Linked DNA regions of Homo sapiens: region 2 is linked to region 1. Evidence: promoter capture Hi-C in 16 types of primary human blood cells and fetal thymus (Javierre and others, 2016). All regions are on one chromosome and are shown on one strand. The core of a region is centred on a gene start or on the middle of the fragment in contact, and the rest is flanking DNA. Distances in the headings are between cores, read along the strand shown.

Region 1 (6,753 bases), core at 1,071-3,570:
GGCCAGGGTCTCTGGGAATTCAGGTCGAGCTGCGGCTTAAGGGGGGACCCCTCTGGGGCTAAGCGAGGAAAGGTAGGAGAGGAAAGCGTCCCGACCCTGAACCCGGTCAGGGAAACAAACAAACAAACAAACCCTAAACCCAAAACAAGGAAACGCCGGCGTCGGGAAGAGGGAAACCCGGCGCCTGTGAGCGCGGAGAACGAGTCAGTGGCTTCTTCGGTCTCGGGCCTGCGGACCTGCCGAGCGCCGAGCAAAAGCTCTTTCCCCGTGACATTCGCCCCCACGTTCCACAGGGTCTCCCGCTCGCCTCAGCCTTCCACAGCCCCCCGCCTCGGCCTACTCCAGAGGTTACCTGCGCCTCAGAGCCCGGCGAGCTCTCCTCAGCCTAGCCAGCCGCTCCGTGAGCGTCTTCAAATAATCGCGCGCCAGGCTAGGAGGAAGCCGCTGCGTTCCGATTGGCCACGGCTCAGCGCTTCCAGGGGCTGGCTCGGTGATTGGTGGAGCACCAGCCCTTGCCCCGCCCACCCTGGTGGCTGTTTCCAAGATTCTCGCGCCCTGGTGAGGTGAAAAATCTCTGAGGGAAACCACGCCACCCACAATCCCCTGCAGCAACGCCGGACTCCGTTCCCGGGGCCTTGTTTAGGTGCATTCTGGGAATTGTAGTTCTCGGTCCAGTTGAAGTTGAGATACATTCTGGGGTCACGGGGTAAGAAATTTTTGTAAAATGGCCTCTCCAGCCTGGCGACAGAGCAAGACTCCGTCTCAAAAATAAATAAATAAATAAATAAATAAAGGCCTCTCCAAGATTCTCGATGCACTTATTTTTCACATTTGAAGCTTCATTGTCAGTTTCACTTTTTTTATTAGTAACTTTAGGTTTCTATTTATTTTTCAAATTAAAATATAAAACTTAACACCTGCTATGTGCCAGGCATTCTTAGATGCTTTACATGTTTTGTTTCATTTACTTCTTACCACAATCTGTAAGGCATTAATATCTATTGCCATTCCCATTTTACAAATAATACAACGGAGAACCCAAAACAATTGCTATTTACAGAACAGAGCTAAATTCTTACTTTGGAAAACCAGAAAGTTCCTAAAACGGTTATTGTTAGCTATTGTTACTATCTTTGTGTCACCAGCTCCTGGTACAGTGTTTCTGGCACATTTTTAGTTTCAAATAAGTTTAGAGTTTTATGTTTATTTTTTCAAATTTAATTTTCACAAATTTGTATGTCATCCTTGAGCAGGGGCCATGTTAAAGTTCTCTGTATCATTCCAATTTTAGTATACATGCTGTCAAAGCAAGCATGTAAATAAATTTCGTTAAGTGACGCCCTCAATTTCATAGAATGAAGTCAGTGACAGTGATGTAAGAGTGTCAGTTTAAAAGGAAAAGGCTGAGGCAAAAAAAAAAAGAATGTAGAGTTTGCTTGAGTTAAAGCGGGGACAGCTGCCCAGAAGATTCCAACCCCCCTCCCCCCACCGCCCTCCACCAGCAGGCTTGGATATGAGCTCTGTCTGGCCTTTGCTACAAGCAGGTTTTTAAAGACGAAGAAGGGGGGCAGGAAGTGGGCTGATACACAACTGTCAAGCATTCTCATTGATGTATAGAAACTACAAGCATCAGTGATTGGCTAGACATTGTTAAACTATAGGGTGTGGGTCATGTCATAGTGTCTTGTGTGGCAGTGTTAGGTTAGTAGGTAGCTACCTGTGGCAGAAGCAGGTAGTTTCAGTAGATGAATACATAGCTCAAGGGGGTGGTAGAACATGATGGGGTCTTATCTTAATGCCTCTCCAGACCTAGTAATTTAAAGGGACTCACATTCCTCAGATAAAAGTGCTTTCTCAAGAGAAATAATCAGGGCAAAGCCAAGTGCTGTAGGAGCTTTACATGAATATGATTATTCCTACTTTATAGCAGGAGGACCTCTGAGGTTCAGAGGTTTGGGATGGCAGGCCTTCGATTTAAGCCAGAACAAAGTCCAATCCCCAAGAGGCATATTGTCCTGGTGAGTATCAGAAACAACTCGTTTGTGTGCTATGTTCTAAACCCTTGGCGCCCATTAACTTATTTAACCCTAAAAAATATCCTGTGAGTTAGCTGCTCTAGTATCATCTTCATTTCGCTGCTGAGGAAAGTGAAGCACAGACAGGTTAACTAACGTGCCCAAGATGCCCAGCCTCTTTCCCTTAACCCACAAATCACTGAACCAAACTCCTTGCCACTACACTTCGCCTCGCCAGGATTAAAAATGGCGCCCACGGCCGGCGTTATGACGCGCCCCGACGTCCGCCGGAAGTGCACGGAGGAGTTCCGGGGGCCAGGCGGCCGCCGCGAGTCTGGTATCCTGAGCTTCGTGAGTTGAGCGCTGCTGCTCCGCGGTGGAGTCACCGCACCGCTCCCGGGATCATGGTGTTCTACTTCACCAGCAGCAGCGGTGAGTGGGCGCCACGTCCTCCTGGACCCTGCTGGACAGCGGGCTCCGAAGCCGGGACCCGCAGTCCGCCGCTGCGCCTGACCCTCGCTCTAAAATGCCTTCTGGATGCGAGTGCCTCTTCCCGCGGCCTCTCGGTCCCCCAGCACATCCGTCCCTCCCACGGCTGCAGGATTTCCCCCGGCGTCCCCTCGTCATGGCGTGGGGGGCGCGGAGGGGCGATGCCACTGCTATGTTTGTATCGGGGAGTTCTCGTCCCCTAATCGGAAAGACGTCCCGTCACTCCCTGGGATTGGGCAGAGCCTGTGGGCTCCTCCACACACCTTATCCCAAGTCTTCTTCCCACCTTCCATCTGCGGCCTTTGTTCTGGCTGAACCCTTGTAATTATCCCCTGTGAGAAAGGAGACACCTGCTAACAACTTTTTCTTAAGGGAAGCGCGACTTACCCTTTCAGGAAGGGGTTGTAGGGTCTGGGATGCAACAGAAAACAATAAAAAGACCCTGGGATGTCCACCCAGCCACTCTCCGGGCAGTTGATGTCCCAGATCTCAGAAGTGACCTATGGTAATGCTTCTGACTTATCTTTGACAGATAAGGAAAGGGTGCCCTTCGTTCCCAGGAAATGCAGTGTCCCGACTTGGTTTCGTTCTGTTCCTGTTATTCCCCTTTCCTAAAATCAACCCCCAGCTAATTCCCTTAAGACAGTTTTGGCCCATCTTTTCCAAGATGCCTTTCCTGATGCTAGCTCCTACCCCAAGATTGCTTAGCTATTCCTTTCCTGGGACCCACTTAACGTTCCAAGTATGCCTTTGGCATTGCACTTATCACGTGGTATTAAATGGTGTCTGCTTGAGCTAGAGTGTAAGTCCCTTGAGGGCGTGGACAGGATCTCTTTACAGTAGTCCCTACTTGTCCTGTATTTCGCTTTCCGTGGTCACATCATCACAAGAAGAAAAGGAGTGAGTACAGTACAATAAGGTTTTGAGAGAGAGAGAGAGCAGAGTCACCTAACTTTTATTACAGTACGTTGTTATAATCGTTCTATTTTATTATTAGTTATTGTCAATAATCTCTTACTCCACCGAACTGATACATTAACTTTATCATAGGTATACATATATAGGGAATACCAGTAGCCATGCGTCCCTTAATGACAAGAATACATTCTGAGAAATGCTCCATTAGGCGGTTTCATTGTTGTAGCAACACGGTAGAGTATACTTAAACCTGTGGTATAGCCTACCACAAATGTAGGCTGTACAGTATACCGTTGCTCCTAGGGTACAAACTTGTACAGCACGTTGCTGTACTGAATGGCTGTAGGCAATGGTAACGCAATGGTGTTTGTGTATTTAAACGGGTCTCAACGTAGAAAAAGTGAGTTGCACCACGCTGTTATGATGGCTACCAGGTCATCAGGCAATAGTGATCAGAATTTTTCAGCTTCGTTATAATGTTATGGGACCACCATAGTATGTGTGGTTTGTTGCTGACCAAAGCATCATTATGTGGCAAGTCCCTTTATATATGGAATTCAGTGTTGTCCTCGGTTTCAGGCATCTGCTGGAGATCTTGGAAGACATCCCCCACAGATAAGGGGGGACTACTGTACTTGTTTCCCTAACGTAGTGACTGGTTAGTAGTTCTCAATAAATGCTTGTTGAATAAATGAATGCCATTTTTTTACTTACTTATAGCACTTTCTATTCTATTGCTACTCTATATGCTTGTTAAAGGTGAGTTTTTTGTTTTTGTTTTTGTTTTTTTTTTTTTTGGAGACGGAGTTTTGCTCTTGTTGCCCAGGCTGGAGTGCAATGGCACGATCTCGGCTCACTGCAACCTCTGCCTCCCGGGTTCAAGCGATTCTGCTGCCTCAGCCTCCTGTGTAGCTGGGATTACAGGAATGCGCCACCAAGCCTGGCTAATTTTGTATTTTTTTAGTAGAGACGGGGTTTCTCCATGTTGGTCAGGCTGGTCTTGAACTCCCGACCTCAGGTGATCTGCCTGCCTCAGCCTCCCAAAGTGCTGGGATTACCAGCATGAGCCACTGCGCCCGGTCTAAAGGTGAGATTTATTTTATTTATTTTTGAGACGGAGTCTTGCTTTGTCACCCAGGCTAGAGTGCAGTGGCACGATCTCAGCTTACTGCAACCTCCATCTCCTGGGTTCAAGCGATTCTGGTACAGCTAGGATTACAGGGACCAGCCAACATGCCTGGCTGATTTTTGTATTTTTAGTAAAGATGGGGTTTCATCATGTTGCTCAGGCTGGTCTTGAACTCCTGAGCTCAAGTGATCTACCCACCTTAACCTCCCAAAGTGCTGGAATTACAAAAGGTGAGTTTTTGTTTTGTTTTGTTTTTTGTTTTTTTGAGATGGAGTCTCCCTCTGTCACTCGGGCTAGAGTACGGTGGTGTGATCTCAGTTCACTGCAACCTCTACCTCCTGGGTTCAAGCAATTCTACTGCCTCAGTCTCCCAAGTAGCTGGGATTACAGGCACACGCCACCATGCGTGGCTAATTTTTGTATTTTGTTAGTAGAAACGGGGTTTCACCATATTGGCCAGGCTAGTCTCGAACTCCTTACCTCAAGTGATCCACCCGCCTCGGCCTTCCAAAGTGCTAGGATTAAAGGCGTGAATCACCACGCTCAGCCAAAAGGTAAGATTTAAGTGAAACTAGTTCCACATTGTTTGTGTGGGTTTGAATAAGGCAATACTTTCTCTTTAGAAGTAAGATTGAGGCTCAGGGAAGTTGTAACTCACAGACCCTACTCTTCCACCTTCATCACACTGACATCTCCTTATTTTTCTCAGTAGTTTAGCCTTCCACAGTGTGTGCCATGAGCTATTTCTCTGTCTCTGTACATGTGGTTTGTTTTACCCATATTATTAAAATTACTAGAAACAAAATTCAAAACCAGCCTGAAAAATCATATACCCTTATAGGCCTCTAAGCATTTTCGTCCTTGGCAACTCAGGCATCTCTTTATAACTTCTCCAGTTGTGAATCTTCAACAACATAGATATCCATATAAACCCAACAATGGAAAAACAAATATACAGGCAGGGTGTATAGGTACTGAATGTATTTTGTGCTGTTCTATTCCCCTTAAAGTTACTCTGAATTCTTTAAGTGTTAGTCACACATACACATCTGCCCTTAATAGAGCAAAATGCTTCACTAGATTTGTGGGTCCTGTTTTTTTTTCATTGACTTCCATTATAATGTCAGAACTGTTTCCTGTTAGAAAAATATTTGGCCTCTAAGCCTAATAAAAGTGCACTTGTGCAGCTGATCTTTTAAAACTGCAAAGTTAATGGAAAAATCATAACTTTCTCAGTAAAATAGTAATGAGACTTTACATATTGGCAGTATAGAAACAACAAATATATAGAATCTTCAGGAAATGAATTTGTATGGCTTGCCAAGTTTTTAACTAACTGATGGTTTTTACTGCATAAAAACTTTTTTAAAATGGGAAGAAAATCTTCATAGGAAGTTGTTCTTTTACATTTTAAGATTAATATCTGACTAAAATGTGTTCCATTTTCATTCTTTCATGCTGTCTCATAAGGGAATAATTGAACATTAGTCTAATAAGTCCAGTGTCACATTTAAGACCATCTGATTATAGATACTTGGCTCAAAGTCCACTTGTACTTTTAATACCTGTTAATATCATCTGCCTAAAAGTAGATTGTTCTATAAATTGTGAAATAATCAGATCACCTCTGAAGTTGGGTTGGTTGCTACCCGTAAGTCAAGTGTCTTCCAAATAACCGGTTCCAGTACTAATCAACCATATTATTTAGATGAGAATAACAAATGAACTAGAATAATTCAGTTTACTTTTCCTTCTTAACATGGAAAGGAACTTAATTCAGACTTGTTGTGCAGCAATGATGTTCCTTTTTATTTTTCATTTTCTTTTCTTTTTTTTTTTTTTTTGAGATGGAGTCTTGCTCTGTCTCCCAGGCTGGAGTGCAGTGGCATGATCTCGACTCACTGCGACTTCTGCCTCCTAGGTTCAAGCGATTCTCTTGCCTCAGCCTCCTTAGTAGCTGGGATTACAGGCATGTGCTACTACGGCTGACTAATTTTTGAATTTTTAGTGGAGACAGGGTTTCGCCATATTGGCCAGGCTGGTCTTGAACTCCTGGCCTCAAGTGATCCTCCCGCTTCAGCCTCCCAAAGTGTTGGGATTACATGCATGAGCCACTGCGCCCAGACTAATTTTCTATTATGACATAATTTCAGTCTTTCAGAGAAGTTGCAAGTATAGTAAAAGATTTCCTGTATATTCTCC
Region 2 (6,617 bases), core at 2,396-4,895, about 15 Mb before region 1:
CCTCAACCTTCAGCAACCATGATCAGTCAGCAGCCATCAACATCAAGGCAAGACTCTCCATCAACAAAAAGATCACCATTTGCTGAAGGCTCAGGTGATCATTAGCTTTTTTTTTTAGCAATACATATCTGTGTGTGTATGTGTATGTGTATAAAATTTAGAGATGGGATCTCACTGTCATGATCATAGCTCACACTCCAGCAGCCTCAGACTCCTGGACTCAAGGGATCCTCCTTGCCTCAGCCTCCCAAGTAGCTGGAACTACAGGCATGCACCACCATACCTGACCAATTAAAAACAACTTTTTAGAAACAGGGTCTCACTCTGCTGTCCAGGCTGCCTTGAGTCCCTGCCTCAGCCTCCTGAGCCCTGACACCCAGCTCATGGTAACTGTTGGTTTGCTTGTTTGAGACAGGGTCTCATTCTGTTTGCTCAGGCTGGAGTACAAAGGCATGACCACAGCTCACTGCAGCCTCAACCTTCTGGGTTCAAGGAATCCTCTCAACTCAGCCTCCCAAGTATCTGGGACTACAGGTGTGTGCCAACATGCCTGGCTAATTTTTGTATTTTTTTTGTAGAGACAGGGTCTCACTATGTTGCCCAGGCTGGCCTTGAACACCTGGGCTCATGTGATCCACCCGCCTCAGCCTCCCAAAGTGCTGGGATTACAGGCGTGAGCCACTGCACCAGGCCATTAAGCCACATCTTAAGGGTGGACAGGTCAGGGATGGGCATTTCAAGCCAAGGAAAACAGCCTATTTAAAGAAACCACAAAAGAGCCTACCCTCTAAGACATAAAGCCGGAACAAAGGTAAAGACAAGTGGAGGGAGATGATGGTGGAAGAGTAGAAGTACTTGGTCTTAAAGAGCTTTATAATTCACCATAAGAAGTTTGGATTTTATTCAGTACAGCAGGTAGCCTTGGAAGGATATGAGCAAGGGCGTGGCAGGCATGCACCACCCTTCTATAGAAGATAGAATGGAGAGAGGTAAAACTGGAGACTAGGATAGTTAAGGGGTTGCTGCAAGGTTAAGACCATGAGAGCTTGGTCAAGAACAGTGAGGAGGCCAGGTGCCGTGGCTCACGCCTGTAGTCCCAGGACTTTGGGAGGCCCTGGCTGACAGATAGCTTAAACCCAGGAGTTTGAGACCAGCCTGGGCAACACAGTGAGACCTCATCTCTGTTAAATATAATAATAAAAATAATTAAAGAACAGTGAGGGTTGGGCGCAGTGGCTCACGCCTGTAATCCCAACACTTTGGGAGGCCGAGGCAGGCGTATCACCTGAGGTCAGGAGTTCGAGTCCAGCCTGGCCAACATGGTGAAACCCCATCTCTACAAAAATACAAAAATTAGCCAGGCATGGTGGCGGGTGCCTGTAATCCCAGCTACTTAGGAGGCTGAGGCGGGATAATCGCTTGAACCCAGGAGGCGGAGGTTGCAGTGAACTGAGATTGTGCCACTGCACTCCAGACTGAGCGACAGAGTGAGACTCCCTCTCAAAAAAAAAAACAAAAAAAAAAACAACAACAACAGTGAGGAGACATGAAGAGGGATGGATTTAAGGGGCATTTATTTATTTAGTCTACAAAATTAACCTGGTCATCAACGGGTTTTATGGGTGACAAAAAAAATCCAAGATGACTCCAAGGTTTCTGGTTTAGACAACTGTTGAACAGATAATTCACAGATGATAATTCACAGATGATAATCCCAAAGGCAGAACGGATATACAAAGGAAATAAAAGATGAGAGAATTATGGTATTTGGTTCAGTTTAAGGAGCAGGGTGTTTAGGAGTTAGAGGAGGGCAGAAGATGGAACCCTGGGGAAACAGCAACATTTAAAAGGGCAGGAAAGGTAGAGAATAAGGGCCAAGGGATTACTCAACAGTCCGCTCTCCAGGTCTGCCTGGCTCAGATCTATATAAAGAAAAGGAGCAGGGAATGAAGTAAAACTGTTACAGGAAAGGGGTCCCAATCCAGACCCCAAGACAGGGTTCTTGGATCTCACGCAAGACAGAATTCAGGGCAAGTCCACAGTACAAAGCAAAAGCAAGTTTATTAAGAACGTAAAGTGGTGAAAGTACAGCTACTCCACAGACAGAGTAGGGCATTCCCGAAAGTAAGAGGAGGAACGCGTCCACCCTAAGTACAACACTTAGTTTATATATAGGATAAAAAAAGATCATGGGGAGATGTGCTTTGCTACAAGGGTTTGTGATAAAGGATTAATTACTATATTATGTAAGAATCGATATTATCTTTATTTATGAGACAGAGTCTTACTCTGTCGCCCAGGCTGGAGTGCAGTGGTGCAAGCACGGCTCACTGCAACCCCCGCCTCCCGGATTCAAGCGATTATCCTGCCTCAGCCTCCAGAGTAGCTGAAATTCGAGGGCATGTGCCACCACACCCGGTTAATTTTTGTATTTTTAGTAGAGACGTTTTCACCATGTTGACCAGGCTAGTCTTGAACTCCTGACCTCAAGTGATCCGCCCGCCTCGGCCTTCCAAAGTGCTGGGATTACAGGCGTGAGGCACTGTGCCCAGCCCAATATTATTATCTTTAAAGCAAAATTAGGAATGCTTCTGTTCTCAAAATATCGGGATATCTGGACACTTGGTAGTCTGGGTCTGTGTAGTAAACATTATCAATCTGTTGCCTTAATGGTATACACATCTAGAGGCTAGGAATACCTAACTTCCCGGGAATGCAGCCCAGCAAGTCCCAGCCTCATTTTCCTAGCCCTCACTCAACACAGAGTCGCTCTAGTTCGAACCCCTCTAACATATTCTCTCTCAGGTGTGAAAATTGCTGCAGCAGTTCGCTATTTGCAACACAGCACATGGAAATCACAGCAATGGAGAGCCTTCAGAAAAGCTTCTGGGGAGGGACAGCCTGGTGGCTCAACTCCTGTAATCCCAACCCATGGGGAGGTCGAGATGGGAGGATCCCTTGAGCTCGAGTTCCAGACTGACCTGGGCAACGTGGGGAGACAACGCCTCTATTTATTTAAAAAATTACATATATATATATATATATACATACACACACACATATATACATACACACATATATACATACATATACATACATATATATAAAACGCTTCTGCGTTGGCAATTGAGATGATTTGGCGAGTGTGTCTTTTTTCATTGCTAAAAATCTGTCACGTTGGCTCTCACAGAAACTTGTGATACCTGAAGACACAGGTAATGGGATAAAGATTAGCACTCTGGGAAAAGGTTCCACAATTTTATTAATCATACACCATCTGTGTCCGCCCTTTTAAAGAAATGGGCGCAATCAGCCAACGACCTCGGCTTTACACCTGTTCTCCAAGAGGCCCTAGTTGTTCCCTACTGTAAGCTGCCCCAGAAAAGGTCCGCATCAATTAACCCACGGGAACAGCCCGGGGCTGGAGGATGCCCCAGGAATCCGGCCTCCCGCCGCGCCTCCTCCCCCCACAAGCAGTTCCTTCCTGCCTGCCGGAAGCTCAGGGCTCCGCCCACTTCGGCAACTCTGAAGCCACCGCCGGAAACACCTGGCCTCAGCCAATAGTTAGCTTCCCAGGAAACGTTACCTCTGACCTCGGGGCTAATCAGAGACAGTGGGACGCACCCCTCGCGAGAGGTGAGGTTGAAGCTGCCTCCGCCATCTTGGAGATGGGAGACGGGCGATGGCTGTGGTCCTTCTGCTAATGCAAACAACAAAACGGGCACACTAGTCACCCCCGAGGGAGGCCACCATCACTGTAACTGTTGGCCAAAGCTACAAAAGAAGCGAGGGAATCCAACCGAGCGCAGCGACACTGAGAACAGCTTCCCCTGCCTTCTGCGGCGGCAGAAGTGAAGTGCCTGAGGACCGGAAGGATGGTGCAGTCCTGCTCCGCCTACGGCTGCAAGAACCGCTACGACAAGGACAAGCCCGTTTCTTTCCACAAGTGAGGACCCTGCGCGCCTCGCGGGGCCGGTCTCAGCCGGGGTGGGGGCGCGCGGCCGGCGGGGCCGGGGGCGGAGCCAGGCGCGTGTCCGCGCGAGGGGCGGGTGGGGTCTGGGGCCGGCCGTGTCGGGCGTTTCCCACCGCGTCCCGCTGGGAACCGCCGCCCGATCGCGCGTTCTCGGCGCGCGTCGCCGCGGCAGCCGTTTCTCGCGCTCCTGGAACAGGCCCTGGTTGCAGGCTTCGCTCACGGCCTGGGTTGACGCGTTCGGAGCCCACGGGCGATGCCTAGGGTGGCGCGGGTTTTGCCACCACCAGGGTCACAGAGCAGCCAGGTGTTTTAATATGGTCTTAGGGGTAAATTTAAAATAGAAACAAAGGCCTTTAAACGAAGAAATCACTACTTTTCGCCCTTGCCGTGGATGGGAGGCCAGCATCGTAGCAATTAAGGGTTTTTTGGCTGGGAAATCAGGGAGAATTTTTGCCCCCAATCTCTAGGAACTAAGCTTTAAGGACCCTGTATTTTGGAGAAAGCTTCAGGTACTGCCGAGATAAATCGTTATCTTTTCAGCACACAATAATGATAATATGGACAGTTACAACATGGATCATAATAAAATGACTCACACGGATCTTTATTTATTATGGCATTACCTGTGCATAGAGAAAGCTCTTTCGAAAGAAACTGCCCCACAGCTTTCAGAGCTGTCTTATCCAGTAGGTAGCACAGTTAAGTGATAGGATCAAAAATATTCTCTTGAAAATAGGAAAAAAGTGCAGAGTTGTAATTACTTATGATAAACGCTTGTAAAATGTGACATAACATTTTCATTCAGCTGAATTTGTTTACAAATTTTAATTACATTTATGTTAAGTTTTCTTTGCAAGAATTCCTGACAGCTATACGCAGATGATAGGTAAGAAATCAGATCCAGGGGTAAACTATACAGATTAGCCATAGGTAATTAGCTAATTATCTTTTATAATTAGGTAAATAATTACAAAAGCAAAATGTTAAATATCTTTTCAGTTAATTTATTTTTTTGCTGTGGGGCCATCTGTGTTTACTAGGGGAGTGTCCATGCATTTTTTAAATATGTTTGATATCATGTGAGATGGACCCTATAGAAATAAGAGTGTGTAGAACATAGAGAGGTCTCCAGAGTAATAATGTTACCCCTTGGAGAAGGGGATAGAACACTTAGAGGATTCAGTTCAGGATATCCTAATATTATCTCTTGATTTAATTGGAATTTCTGTAAACATGTTCTTTCTAAATGTAGGGAAAGGTCAGGTGATGGTAACAGGATTACATGCCCAGCTCCCCACCCACATTTCTGATGGCTTGGCAGAAGGAATCTAAAATTATGGAAAATGTTTCATTGGCACTGGAAACTAGTTTAAAGAGGGTATTCACACGTCGGAAATAACTGTTTTTGTCGAGGCACGATGGCTCATGCCTGTAATTCCCAGCACTTGGGGAGGCCAAGGTGGGCGGATCACCTGACGTCAGGAGTTCGAGACCAGCCTGGCCAACATGGCAAAATCCCGTCTCTACTAAAAATACAAAATACAGGCGTACGCCTGTAATCTTAGCTACTTGGGAGGCTGAGGTAGGGGAATCACTTGAACCTGGGATATGGAGGTTGCAGTGAGCTGAGATCTTGCCCTGCACTCCAGCTTGGGTAACAGAGTGAGACTCCATCTCAAAAAAAAAAAAAAAAAAAAAAAAAGATACAACTGTTTCTGCTAGATGTTAAGCAGATATGGATTGAATCAAAAGAAGGGCTAACCTGCATCTTATCCCTTATCTAAAATAGCAGGTTTAGGGAGAGTAGATGGGAAAGATCTTAAGAGAATCTCACAAACAGCTGTAAATTTGTTGTCCTTGAGCCAGGAGGCCCTAGGTACTGAATTTTACCAGCAAATGCTACCATAGTTTATACTTACAGAGCCAGGAGGCCATAGGTACTGAATTTTACCAGCAAATGCTACCCTAGTTTATACTTATAGAGGCCGTTCCAGTTGAGATTTTCTTTCTTTTTTTTTTTTTTTTTTTTTTGAGATGGAGTCTTGCTCTGTCACCAGGCTAGAGTGCAGTGGCACGATCTCAGCTCAGTGCAACCTCTGCCTCCCGAGTTCAAGTGATTCTCCTGCCTCAGCCTCCCAAGTAGCTGGGACTACAGGTGTGCACCACCACGCCCAGCTAATTTTTGTATTTTTAGTAGAGACAGGGTTTCACCATGTTGGCCAGGATGGTCTCCATACTTCGACCTCCTGATCCGCCCTCCTCAGCCTCCCAAAGTGCTGGGATTACAGGCCTGATTACAGGCCATGCCCAGCCCCAGCTGAGATTTTCTAGGAGTACCACTTCTCCCACCCTCTACATAGTGGCAGCGGAGAGTGCTATGTCGTACAAAGAAAAGGGACTGTCATAAAGATCTCTTACTAGCAGAGTCAGGCTCTAGCATATCGTACATGGAAGAGAGACTGTGAAACATAAATTTGAAATTCCCTTCCCTTTTTCTTTCTAATCCCCCCAGTTTACCAAATTCTTAACTTGGAAGAGTAAAATTACCACAATAAATGTAAACTCTCACTATCCCCGTTTACCTGGGCCTAATGGACATCCCAGTTGATTAGAAAATAAATTCTTTCGTTATTATCTGCCTTTA

The links. Contacts are between HindIII fragments. The CHiCAGO score rates a contact against its expected background, and 5 or more counts as called.
Region 2: the fragment with the promoter of THAP1 here is called in contact with the fragment with the promoter of CCDC25 in region 1 in 1 of 17 cell types (total CD8 T cells); the score reaches 6.3 in total CD8 T cells.

The regions. Positions count from the first base shown.
Region 1 is chr8:27,768,207-27,774,959 of GRCh38, reverse strand. It overlaps CCDC25 (coiled-coil domain containing 25), which reads left to right and starts at 2,320. Exons shown (of 9, transcript NM_018246.3): 1 at 2,320-2,447. The coding sequence starts at 2,420. It overlaps ESCO2 (establishment of sister chromatid cohesion N-acetyltransferase 2), which reads right to left and starts at 406. Exons shown (of 11, transcript NM_001017420.3): 1 at 353-406. It also overlaps the pseudogene RNU6-1276P. RefSeq lists a silencer at 349-518 and enhancers at 629-778, 2,327-2,636. The HindIII fragment of the contact is 7,740 bases long and covers 840-6,753 here.
Region 2 is chr8:42,840,353-42,846,969 of GRCh38, reverse strand. THAP1 (THAP domain containing 1) reads left to right here and starts at 3,645. Exons shown (of 3, transcript NM_018105.3): 1 at 3,645-3,946. The coding sequence starts at 3,876. It overlaps LOC124901940 (a long non-coding RNA gene), which reads right to left and starts at 4,036. Exons shown (of 2, transcript XR_007060901.1): 1 at 3,587-4,036; 2 at 1,558-3,203. RefSeq lists enhancers at 3,567-3,926, 3,262-4,052 and a silencer at 3,957-4,046. The HindIII fragment of the contact is 1,565 bases long and covers 2,886-4,450 here.